Linked DNA regions of Homo sapiens: regions 2 and 3 are each linked to region 1. The links are contacts of gene promoters, found by promoter capture Hi-C in human tissues and cell types (Jung and others, 2019). All regions are on one chromosome and are shown on one strand. The core of a region is centred on a gene start or on the middle of the fragment in contact, and the rest is flanking DNA. Distances in the headings are between cores, read along the strand shown.

Region 1 (3,399 bases), core at 685-3,184:
CACGCCTGTAGTCCCAGTTACTCGGGAGGCTGAGGCAGGAGAATCGCTTGAACCTGGGAGGCAGAGGTTGCAGTGAGCTGAGATCACGCTGCTGCACTCCAGCCTGGGCGACAGAGCTAAACTCCATCTCAAAACAACAACAACAACAACAACAAACTATATATTAATTGTATTGTTGGGTCTACAATATAGAGAAAGGTAACATATTTGACATTAACGGCACAAAGGAGGTGAAGGGAGCCAAGTTGTACTGGAATAAGAAAATCATTGGGCCGGGCGCGGTGGCTTACGCCTGTAATCCCAACACTTTGGGAGGTGGAGGCAGGCGGATTACCTGAGGTCAGGAGTTCGAGACCAGCCTAACCAACATGGTAAAACCCTGTGTCTACTAAAAATACAAAAATTACCTGGGCATCGTGGCGGGCGCCTGTAATCCCAGCTACTCTGGAGGCTGAGGCGGGAGAATTGCTTGAACCCAGGAGGCAGAGGTTGCAGTGAGCCGAGATAGCGCCACTGCACTCTGGCCTGGGGAAAAGAGTAAGACTCAGTCTCAAAAAATAAAAGAAAAAGAAAAGAAAAGAAAATCACACCCAGTAGTGACTTGAATCCACAAAACCAGATTAAGAGAACCAGAAATGCAAAATAAGAAAATGAAAATAAAAAATTGCATGCTTGCTGTCCTTTATTTTCTTTCTTTCTTTCTTTCTTTTTTTTCTGAGTCGGAGTCTCGCCCTGTCTCCCAGGCTGGAGTGCAATGGCCAGATCTCGGCTTACTACAACCTCCATCTCCCAGGTTCAAGCGATTCTTCTGCCTTAGCCTCCCGAGTAGCTGGGATTACAGGCGCCCGCCACCACGCCCGGCTAATTTTTGTATTTTTAGTAGAGACGGGGTTTCGCCATGTTGGCCAGGCTGGTCTCGAACTCCTGACCTCAAGTGATCCACCCGCCTCGGCCTCCCAAAGTGCTGGGATGACAGGCGTGAGCCACCGCGCCTGGTCTTTTTTTTTTTTTTTTTTTTTTGAGACAGAGTCTCACTCTGTCGCCCAGGCTGGAGTACAGTGGCGCAATCTCGGGTCACTGCAACCTCTGGCTCCTGGGTTCAAACGATTCTCATGCCTCAGCCTCCTGCCTCTTTCCTCTTAATTTTACTTCATAGCCTTGTCATCAGGGAGTTGTTTGCGGGTGTTTCTTTTTTCATATCTGGTCCCCGTCCTCATCCCCAGGAGGGCTTCTTTCTGCCCAAGCAAACTGCTAAGTCCAAGCCCCTCAAAGTGGGCGGCTGGATCTTGATCCATTCTCCGGCTCTCCGCGCGCTCTCCCCCAACCCCTGCTCCCTCAGGTTCTTATGAACTGGAGGCAGACAGACAGAGTTTGAATCCCAGCTACTACGAAACACAAATCGGACCCCAAATTAACAAAAACAGCATTCCAGAGCTTATTCAATATTCGTGCTGCAACATCGCTAGGAGAAAAATATATTATTTGTATTCCCATTTTACAGATACCCTCAGGTATCTGGTGGAGACCTCCGTAACACACCTCCCCGGAGGATGAGGCCCCGAGTGTGAAGCATCGGGATCTCACGGTAAACACCGCAGCCACCCGAGGTAGCTTAGGTTCAATGCTTAGGCATCCTGCAGGCGGCGCGCGCCGCCGCCCCTAGTTGCAGCCGGGACTGGCGGAGTGCCTACAACTCCCGACGTGCCGCGCGCGCAGACGCTCCGTTGCGGTCGTGGTGGAACAGGTGGAGCTTGCCTCGTTGCCTTCTGGGAAACGAAGTCTCGCTGAAGAGAGGCGGAACTTTGAGTAGCAGGTGGATCCATAGCCAATGAAGACGCGGGTCGCTTTGAGTGCGGGGCAGAGAAGCCAATGGACGTGCGGCATTGAGAGGGCGGGTCTTCCGGTAGTGAAGGCCTGGTGAACGGCTGCGCGACAGAGGACACTTCCTTTTGCGGGTGGCGGCGAACGCGGAGAGCACGCCATGAAGGCCTCGGGCACGGTAAGGCGGGCGCGGCGCGGCAGGGGGCCAAGGGATGGGGCACGGGCCCCATCAGGGGCCTGCATAAGTGGCGTGGGCCGGGTTGGTGCCGCGCGCTTCTGTTTGGGCCCCCCTTGGCCGCGCGCCGCCTTCTCTTGTTGCACCCAACATGGCGGCCATCGTGGGAGCCGCGTGGAGAGAGCGATGCGTGACCTGGGCCAGCTCAGGGATCGCGGGGGCCCAAGGACTCCGGGTCTTCTTCCCGGGGGAAGGAATAAGTCGCGCAGCATAGAGGCCCTAGCCCCGGCACCTCGTCGAGCCGCCAAGTTTCTGTTTTCCTTTCTGCAACGTGGACGTGGCGGTAGAGCAATAGTGTGTTTTCTTTCTGCCGGAATGGCTGTGAGAAGCAGATGAAAATTGCTAACAGTGAGCCGAAACGGGGAGCGTGAGGCTTAACGCTGTGGTACATACTGGATAGAATCAAACGGCTCTATGGCGCAGAGATAGGAGAACCTGGACTCCCATGGAGTGGGTGTATTATGTCCAGATCTCCAGCTTCGGTTTCCTTGCTGTCAAAGGGGCGGGCCCCATTGTTCCCTTCCTGAACGTGTGCCGAGGCCGGTGGGTCAGGTTCACAGTAAAAGTAGGAACTGCGATAATTTGTGACTATTTTTCATTGATAACTAGTGAAAAGCTGGCGAGTCAGTTTCAGAGGTGGTTTCTTTGTGCCATATCACAGAGCCTGGACTTGACCAAAGATTCTCACCTCTGCATCTGTAAACCGGGAGTCTTCCCTGGGCCAAACGTTTGGATTGCAGTTGGGAAAACGGAGGCAGCCGCAGCTCGCGTGGCAACAGTGCAGGGATCCCAGGGCTGGGGAGAGACCTGAGGTCTTGTCCTAGTTCTGCCTGGAATGGGCTGTGAGATCCCATGCTGGTCACTGGGCCTCAGGGTGAAAGAAGATGTTGGCTGGATGTTTTGAGGTGCAGAGTGGCTGTTTGACGGCGACTGCAAAGCAATTCAGGACTGCAGCATGAAGAAAGGAGGCTGTGGGTCTAAGCCACAGCTTTCCTGGTCTGAAACCCTTAGCCCAGGCAAAGGAGAGGCAGGCAACTCAATTAATCCTCCCTGGAGACCTCCCTCTCCTCAGTTCATTTTGTGTATAAAGTTGTGGTCGGGAGTGTGACCTACAGTCACCAAGAATCCACATGGAGGCCCTAGGGTGGCCCTGCCTCCTGCTTCCCGAATCTGTGGTCACTAGATGTAGGAAAGGGAGTGAGGTGGATCTCCACAGTTGCCTCTGGGTGCTGGCCTTACCCTCACTCCTGTTTCCTTTCAGCTACGAGAGTACAAGGTAGTGGGTCGCTGCCTGCCCACCCCCAAATGCCACACGCCGCCCCTCTACCGCATGCGAATCTTTG
Region 2 (3,004 bases), core at 357-2,856, 95 kb after region 1:
TTCCCCTTCAGTCCTGTTCTGGGGTCTGGCATTGCCCCTGCCCTCCATGGGGTGTCCTTTTCTGCCCTCTTCTCCAGGATCGGACTTGGGTACCATGTGCTTCTATAAGCCCTCTGCAGACAGCACTAAATAGATGGAGGGAGCACGCCAAGGGAGCTACAGGCTCCCAGGGCAGCTTCAGAGCTGGGGAGCAAGAGTTCAGCTGCTCTGCCAAGCGAGGTGGTTCACAACTGTAATCCCAACACTTTGGAAGGGCGAGGCAAGCTCAGGAGTTCGAGACCAGCCTGGGCAACGTACTGAAACCCTGTCTCTACAAAAAATTAAAAAAATTAGCCAGGTGTAGTGGTGCACACTTGTAGTCCAAGCTACTTGGGGGCCGAAGGTGGGAGGATCGCTTGAGCCCGGGAAGTCAAGGCTGCAGTGAGCCATGTTCATGCGACTGCACTCCAGCCTGGGTGACAAAATGTCACCTCCCTGAATGTCACCCACCTAGATCTCCCCATGGCGAAGGAACTAGGGGCAATGTGAGGGGGTGAGCAGGAACAGCATTGGGAAAGACAGATAAAGCATTCAGTGTCTAGCTTCTGGAGCCCAGTGAAAGGAGGAGTGGCCTTAGGGAGGGGACATGGAAGAGGTGGGGCTAGCCCAGGGCCCCATTGGAGTGATAAAGCCACTGTTCTTAAGCTTCCTGAAAGCTTAGGAGATGACCCAGCTCAGCAACACCAAGCCAGAGCGCAGATCTGCTGTAAAGACCATTGTACGTAATAGGCTGAAGCAGGTGAATCACCTCTGGCCAGGAGTTCAAGTCCAGCCTGGCCAACACAGCAAAACCCCATCTCTACTAAAAATACAAAAAGTAGCCGGGCATGGTGGCAGGCACCTGTAATCCCAGATGCTTGGGAGGCTGAGGCAGGAGAATTGTTTGAACCCTGGAGGCGGCAGTTGCAGTGAGCTGAGATCACATCACTACACTCCAGCCTGGGTGACAGAGCAAGACTCTGTCTCAAAAAAATAAAAAATAAGAAAGACCACTGTAGTCCGGGAGCTGTCTGCACCCTACTCTTTTGGGTCCCCGCCTCCACCCCGCACCCCCTGTCTGATCATTACAGATCTCAAAGGGACAGGAAAGGCAGCAGCAGCCACCCTCTCTCCCAGTCAAGTGGTCACCAGCAGGACTGAAGGGGACAGCCCCTTTGCAGTGGCTCGGCGAGGAGACCCCTGCACCCTAGGGTGAGTGAATCCCAGACTTGGGTCGCCTTTGGGGGTGGGGGTGGCTCAGGGGTTGGATAGAAAAATTGGTAACTGGGCAGGCTAGGTGGCTCACGCCTGTAATCCCAGCACTTTGGGAGGCTGAGGCAGGTGGATCACTTGAGGTCAGGAGTTTGAGGCCAGTTTGGCCGACATGGCGAAACCCCGTGTCTACTAAAAATACAAAAATTGCCCGGGGATGGTGGTGGGCACCTGCAATCCTAGCTACTTGGGAGGCTGAGGCAGGAGGACCACTTGAATCCGGGAGGCAGAGGTTGCAGTGAGCCAAGATCGCGCCACTGCACTCCAGCCTGGGCGACAGAGCAAAGCTCTGTTTCAAAAAAAAAAAAAAAAAGGTGACCTGAGGAAAAAGTGCCAGCTTTTGAAATAATAACAAGCTGGGTACAGTGGCGTGCACCTGTGGTCCTAGCTACTCGGAAGGCTAAGGTGGGAGTATCGAGTCCAGGAGTTCGAGGCTGCAGTGAGCTATGATCACGCTTGTGAATGGCCACTGCACTCCAGCCTAGGCGACAGAGCGAGACCCCCATCTCTTTAATTAAAAAAAAAAAAAAGAAAAAAGGCCAGACGTGGTGGCTTACGCTTGTAATCCCAGCACTTTGGGAGGCCAAGGCAGGCAGATCACCTGAGGTCAGGAGTTCGAGACCAGCCTGGCCAACAGGGTGAAACCCCCATCTCTACTAAAAATACAAAATTAGCCAGGCATGGTGCTGCATGCCTGTAATCCCAGCTACTTGGGAGGCTAAGGCAGGAGAATCACTTGAACCCAGGAGGCGGAAGTTGCAGTGAGCCGAGATTGTGCCATTGCACTCCAGCCTGGGCAACAAGAGTGAAACTCCATCTCCAAAAAAAAAAAAAAAAAGAAAGAAAGAAAAAAAATAATAATATAATTATTATTATATCATATATATCATGATGATGATAGCAAGGACTATGCTTTCTAGAGCCTCCGGGGAGTTACTGTCCACTTTCTTTGATCACTGGAGTTGGGGAAACTATTCAGAGAGGCCAGATGACCTAGAAGTGGGGTGTTGAGCCAGGTTGGAAGAGCTCTGTCCCACCACTCCCGCCCCCGCCCCCCACACACAGCCTCTACTTCCCGGCTCTCGTGGTCTCGCTGGAGACAGCCCCCAGGGTAGGCCAGCTCTGTGGAAGGCAGCTCCTGTGCTCCTTTCTCCAGTGAACTTTTTTTTTTTAGTTTTGTTTTGTTTTGTTTTGTTTGTTTGTTTTGAGACAGAGTCTGACTCTGTCGCCCAGGCTGGAGCGCAGTGGCATGATCTTGGCTCACTGCAACCTCCACCCTCCACCCCACCGGGTTCAAGCGATTCTCCTGCTTCAGCCTCCCAAGTAGCTGGGATTACAGGCATGCGTCACCACGCACAGCTAATTTTTGTGTTTTCAGTAGAGATGGGGTTTCCCCATGTTGGCCGGGCTGGTCTCGAACTCCTGACCTCAGGTGATCCACCTGTCTTGGCCTCCCAAAGTGCTGGGATTGCAGGCGTGAGCCACTGAGCCAGGCCTCCTTGGTGAACACTGACTGACATCCAGGGTCAGCACTAAGCTGCCCATGGGGGTGTGGAGAAAACAGAGGTGGTGGTCATTTAGTCAATCAACAAACACTGAGCAAGCTAGCTACTGTCTGCCAGGCCCTAGGCTGGATGCTGGGATGCAATAAGGACAAAGGCCAGCCCAGGTCAGCCCTTGTGGAATTTCATGGGGCATCAATTAAGCTTAAGTG
Region 3 (3,109 bases), core at 2-2,501, 130 kb before region 1:
GTTGAAAAGACTATCCTTTCCCCATTGAATGTTTGGAACGCTTGTTGAAGATCATTTCAGCATACATGTGATGATTTATTTCCGGGCCTCTATTGTATTCCATTGGTCTATATGTCTGTCTTTATGCCAGTGCCACGCTGTTTTGATTACTGTAGCTTTGTAGTAAGTTTTGAAATCTGGAAGTGTGAGTCCTCTATCTTGATTCTTCTATTTCATGATTGTTTAATCTCCTTTTCACATTGTTCATTGTTCATGTATAGAAATTCAACTGTGTTTTGCCTGTGGACTTTGTACCTTGCTTCTTTGCTGAATTCGTTTATTATTATTTTTTGAGATGGAGTCTCACTCTGTCGCCCAGGCTGGAGTGCAGTGGCACAATCTCAGCTCACTGCAACCTCCACTTCCTGGGTTCAAGCAGTTCTCCTGCCTCTGCCTCCCGAGTAGCTGGGATTACAGGCACCTGCCACCACGCCCAGCTAATTTTTGTATTTTTAGTAAGAGACAGGGTTTCGCCATGTTGGCTAGGCTGGTCTTGAACTCCTGACCTCAAGTGATCTGCCTGCCTCAGCCTCCCAAAGTGCTGGGATTACAGGCGTGAGCCACTGCACCCCCAGGCCTGATTTTTTACATTATTGTTCATAAAGTCTGTTGAACTGGCATTTTCTTGTAGAATTAAATATCTGTGCCTGGCTTTGGTATTAAGACAATTCTGGTCTTATAAAATGAGTTAGGAAGTGTTCCTTCCTCTTCAGTTCCTCGGAAAAGTTTGAGAAAGGCTGATGTTAGTTCTCTAAATGTTTAGTGGCTTCCCCAGGGCTTTTCTTTGTTGGGAGGTCGTAAGTTACTGATTCATTCTCCTTGCTAGCTACAGGTATGTGCTGATTTTCTATTTTTGTGATTGTGTCTTGGTAGTTTTTGTGTTTCTAGGAATGTGTCCATTTCGGCTGAGGGTATGCATTTGTTGGTATACAGACGGGGTAGTACTCTTACCCCCTGAGCTGGGCAGCAGCTGTGATTGTAAGATGCAGGGTCTGGCAGGCTTCTTGTGCCCGAGACCCAGCCGTATCCTTTCATTTCATTGATCATTCACTTGCCCAGGGCTGGTGGCCTTGTCCCCTTTGGCCCTAAGGTCAGGGTTTGGACAAGGCCCCCAGAGCTGCTGTCTCATCCGCATCCAGCATCCCGCAGTGATCTTGGGCCCGCCTCTCAAGGCTCTGTCCACCCACCCTGGCTCCCCATCACCCTTGGGGCAGGGATTCTGTCTGTCTTGGTCACAGCCCTGTTTCAGGGCCTGGTGCCCATGAGGTTCTGTTAAATGCCCCTTGAGCAAGTGAACCAGACAAATGCTGCAGAAGCAGCAGATGGTCCAGGCACTGGCTGCTTTCAGGGCTCAAACTCTTAAACCCTCTTCCAGGAAGCATTCCCTGATTGCCACCCACTCGCCCCCCAGCCCTGGGGATGTCTATGTCCAGGGACTGGCTGGGGATGAGTCAGGCTCTAGGCACAAAGGGGTGGCCGGTGGTGTTTGTAGAGTGAGTGAAGAGTCACTGGAGTCAAGGCGTGGTGACATGCACCTGTAGTCCCATCTACTTGGAAGGCTGAGGCAGGAGGATCACTTGAGCCCAGGAGTTTGTGACGAGCCTGGGCAGCATAGCGAGACCCCATTTCTTAAAATAAGATTCACTGGAGTCATGAGCGCACCAGGCCTCCCCAGAAAACTCTGAGTTCAGGCCTCCTGCTGAGGAGGGAGCTGCTCTGAGTGGTGCAGGTCGAACTTGGAGCCTCGGCCCCTCCCCAGCCCCAGGAGCTCATCCCTGCCTCCCCATCCCCCCGCCCGCAGGGTCAGCCAGCAGCCGGCCCGGGGTGTCAGCCACCCCACCCAAGTCCCCGGTCTACCTGGACCTGGCCTACCTGCCCAGCGGGAGCAGCGCCCACCTGGTGGATGAGGAGTTCTTCCAGCGCGTGCGCGCGCTCTGCTACGTCATCAGTGGCCAGGACCAGCGCAAGGAGGAAGGCATGCGGGCCGTCCTGGACGCGCTACTGGCCAGCAAGCAGCATTGGGACCGTGACCTGCAGGTGCGTGTCACCCCAGGGCCTCTGGTGGTAAGTGTAGTTAGCACAGATGGGTAAAACCACCCTCGACCCTCAGAGACTAAGCTGTGTTCCCCAGGCCACACGGGAATGGGGGCGAATGTGGGAGTCTCACATGGCTCAGCCCTTAGGGGTCTCTTCGGACTCTGATTCTGTCGTGTCACTGTTGTCATTGGCTGTGCTGGAAGCCTGGGGGAGGACGCAGGGCCTCGTGAAGCCTCATGGTTCTATCCCTTCCCCAGACACCTTGTCACTTAGCCATTGTTCCGCTGTGAGAATTAGTCGGGATGGAATAGGTGGGCTGGGTGGTATCTGTGCGGCTGAGAACCCTCCCCCATGGCTGCATGAAGCTGAGAGACTGAAACCAAGCCCTGCAGGGCGAGGTGCATGTGGGCAGAGGGAGGACCGCCTCACACCGCGGCCCCTGCCCTCTCATAGCTGCTAGGCTGGCTTCAAAGGAGTGTCCCTGTAGGGTGCACGACCCAGGAAAAGGCCCAGAGGTAGGAAAGAGGTTGGTGTGTTCAAGGAGCAGGGGGAGATCCAAGTGAGTAGAGAGGGGTCTCAGGCCAAGGAAGGCCTTGCAGAGGAGGAGCTCCGTCTCCTGTGTGCTGAGAAGGCTCTTTGGGTGCTGGTTGGGAGGAACAGGGACCTCACAGACGGGCTGACCACCCATTGCAGACCTCAAGGTGGAGCACACAAGATCAGGGAAAAGCCAGGAGGGGTCTCAAATGCCAGGAAAGGAAGGCGACTTGGGCCCAGGCCAGAAGGGCAGGGGGCACCCCCCTCACTGGTGGTCCACTCTCCCCACACACCCCCCCTCCACCTGCAGGTGACCCTGATCCCCACTTTCGACTCGGTGGCCATGCATACGTGGTACGCAGAGACGCACGCCCGGCACCAGGCGCTGGGCATCACGGTGTTGGGCAGCAACAGCATGGTGTCCATGCAGGATGACGCCTTCCCGGCCTGCAAGGTGGAGTTCTAGCCCCATCGCCGACACGCCCCCCACTCAGCCCAG

Evidence for each region. The method cuts DNA at HindIII sites, captures the fragments that hold promoters and counts their contacts. A contact is called where the count stands out against the background at its distance.
Region 2: a fragment that was not itself captured here is called in contact with the fragment with the promoter of RPL18A in region 1 in 4 of the 25 tissues and cell types used here (dorsolateral prefrontal cortex, liver, lymphoblastoid cells and 1 more).
Region 3: a contact is called between a fragment that was not itself captured here and the fragment with the promoter of RPL18A in region 1, in 2 of the 25 tissues and cell types used here (lymphoblastoid cells and spleen).

Annotation. Positions count from the first base shown.
Region 1 is chr19:17,857,976-17,861,374 of GRCh38, forward strand. It overlaps RPL18A (ribosomal protein L18a), which reads left to right and starts at 1,935. Exons shown (of 5, transcript NM_000980.4): 1 at 1,935-1,999; 2 at 3,318-3,399. The coding sequence starts at 1,982. RefSeq lists enhancers at 1,483-2,218, 1,551-1,930. The HindIII fragment of the contact is 5,224 bases long and covers 1-2,032 here.
Region 2 is chr19:17,953,452-17,956,455 of GRCh38, forward strand. It overlaps a transcript of KCNN1 not described here. Among named protein-coding and RNA genes, the nearest start is that of KCNN1, 12 kb to the right of the region's middle. The HindIII fragment of the contact is 4,437 bases long and covers 1-3,004 here.
Region 3 is chr19:17,731,353-17,734,461 of GRCh38, forward strand. MAP1S (microtubule associated protein 1S) reads left to right here. Exons shown (of 7, transcript NM_018174.6): 6 at 1,841-2,076; 7 at 2,921-3,109. The coding sequence ends at 3,076. It overlaps FCHO1-AS1 (FCHO1 antisense RNA 1), which reads right to left. Exons shown (of 5, transcript XR_007067152.1): 4 at 2,915-3,109; 5 at 1,983-2,070. Among named protein-coding and RNA genes, the nearest start is that of MAP1S, 13 kb to the left of the region's middle. The HindIII fragment of the contact is 4,823 bases long and covers 1-3,109 here.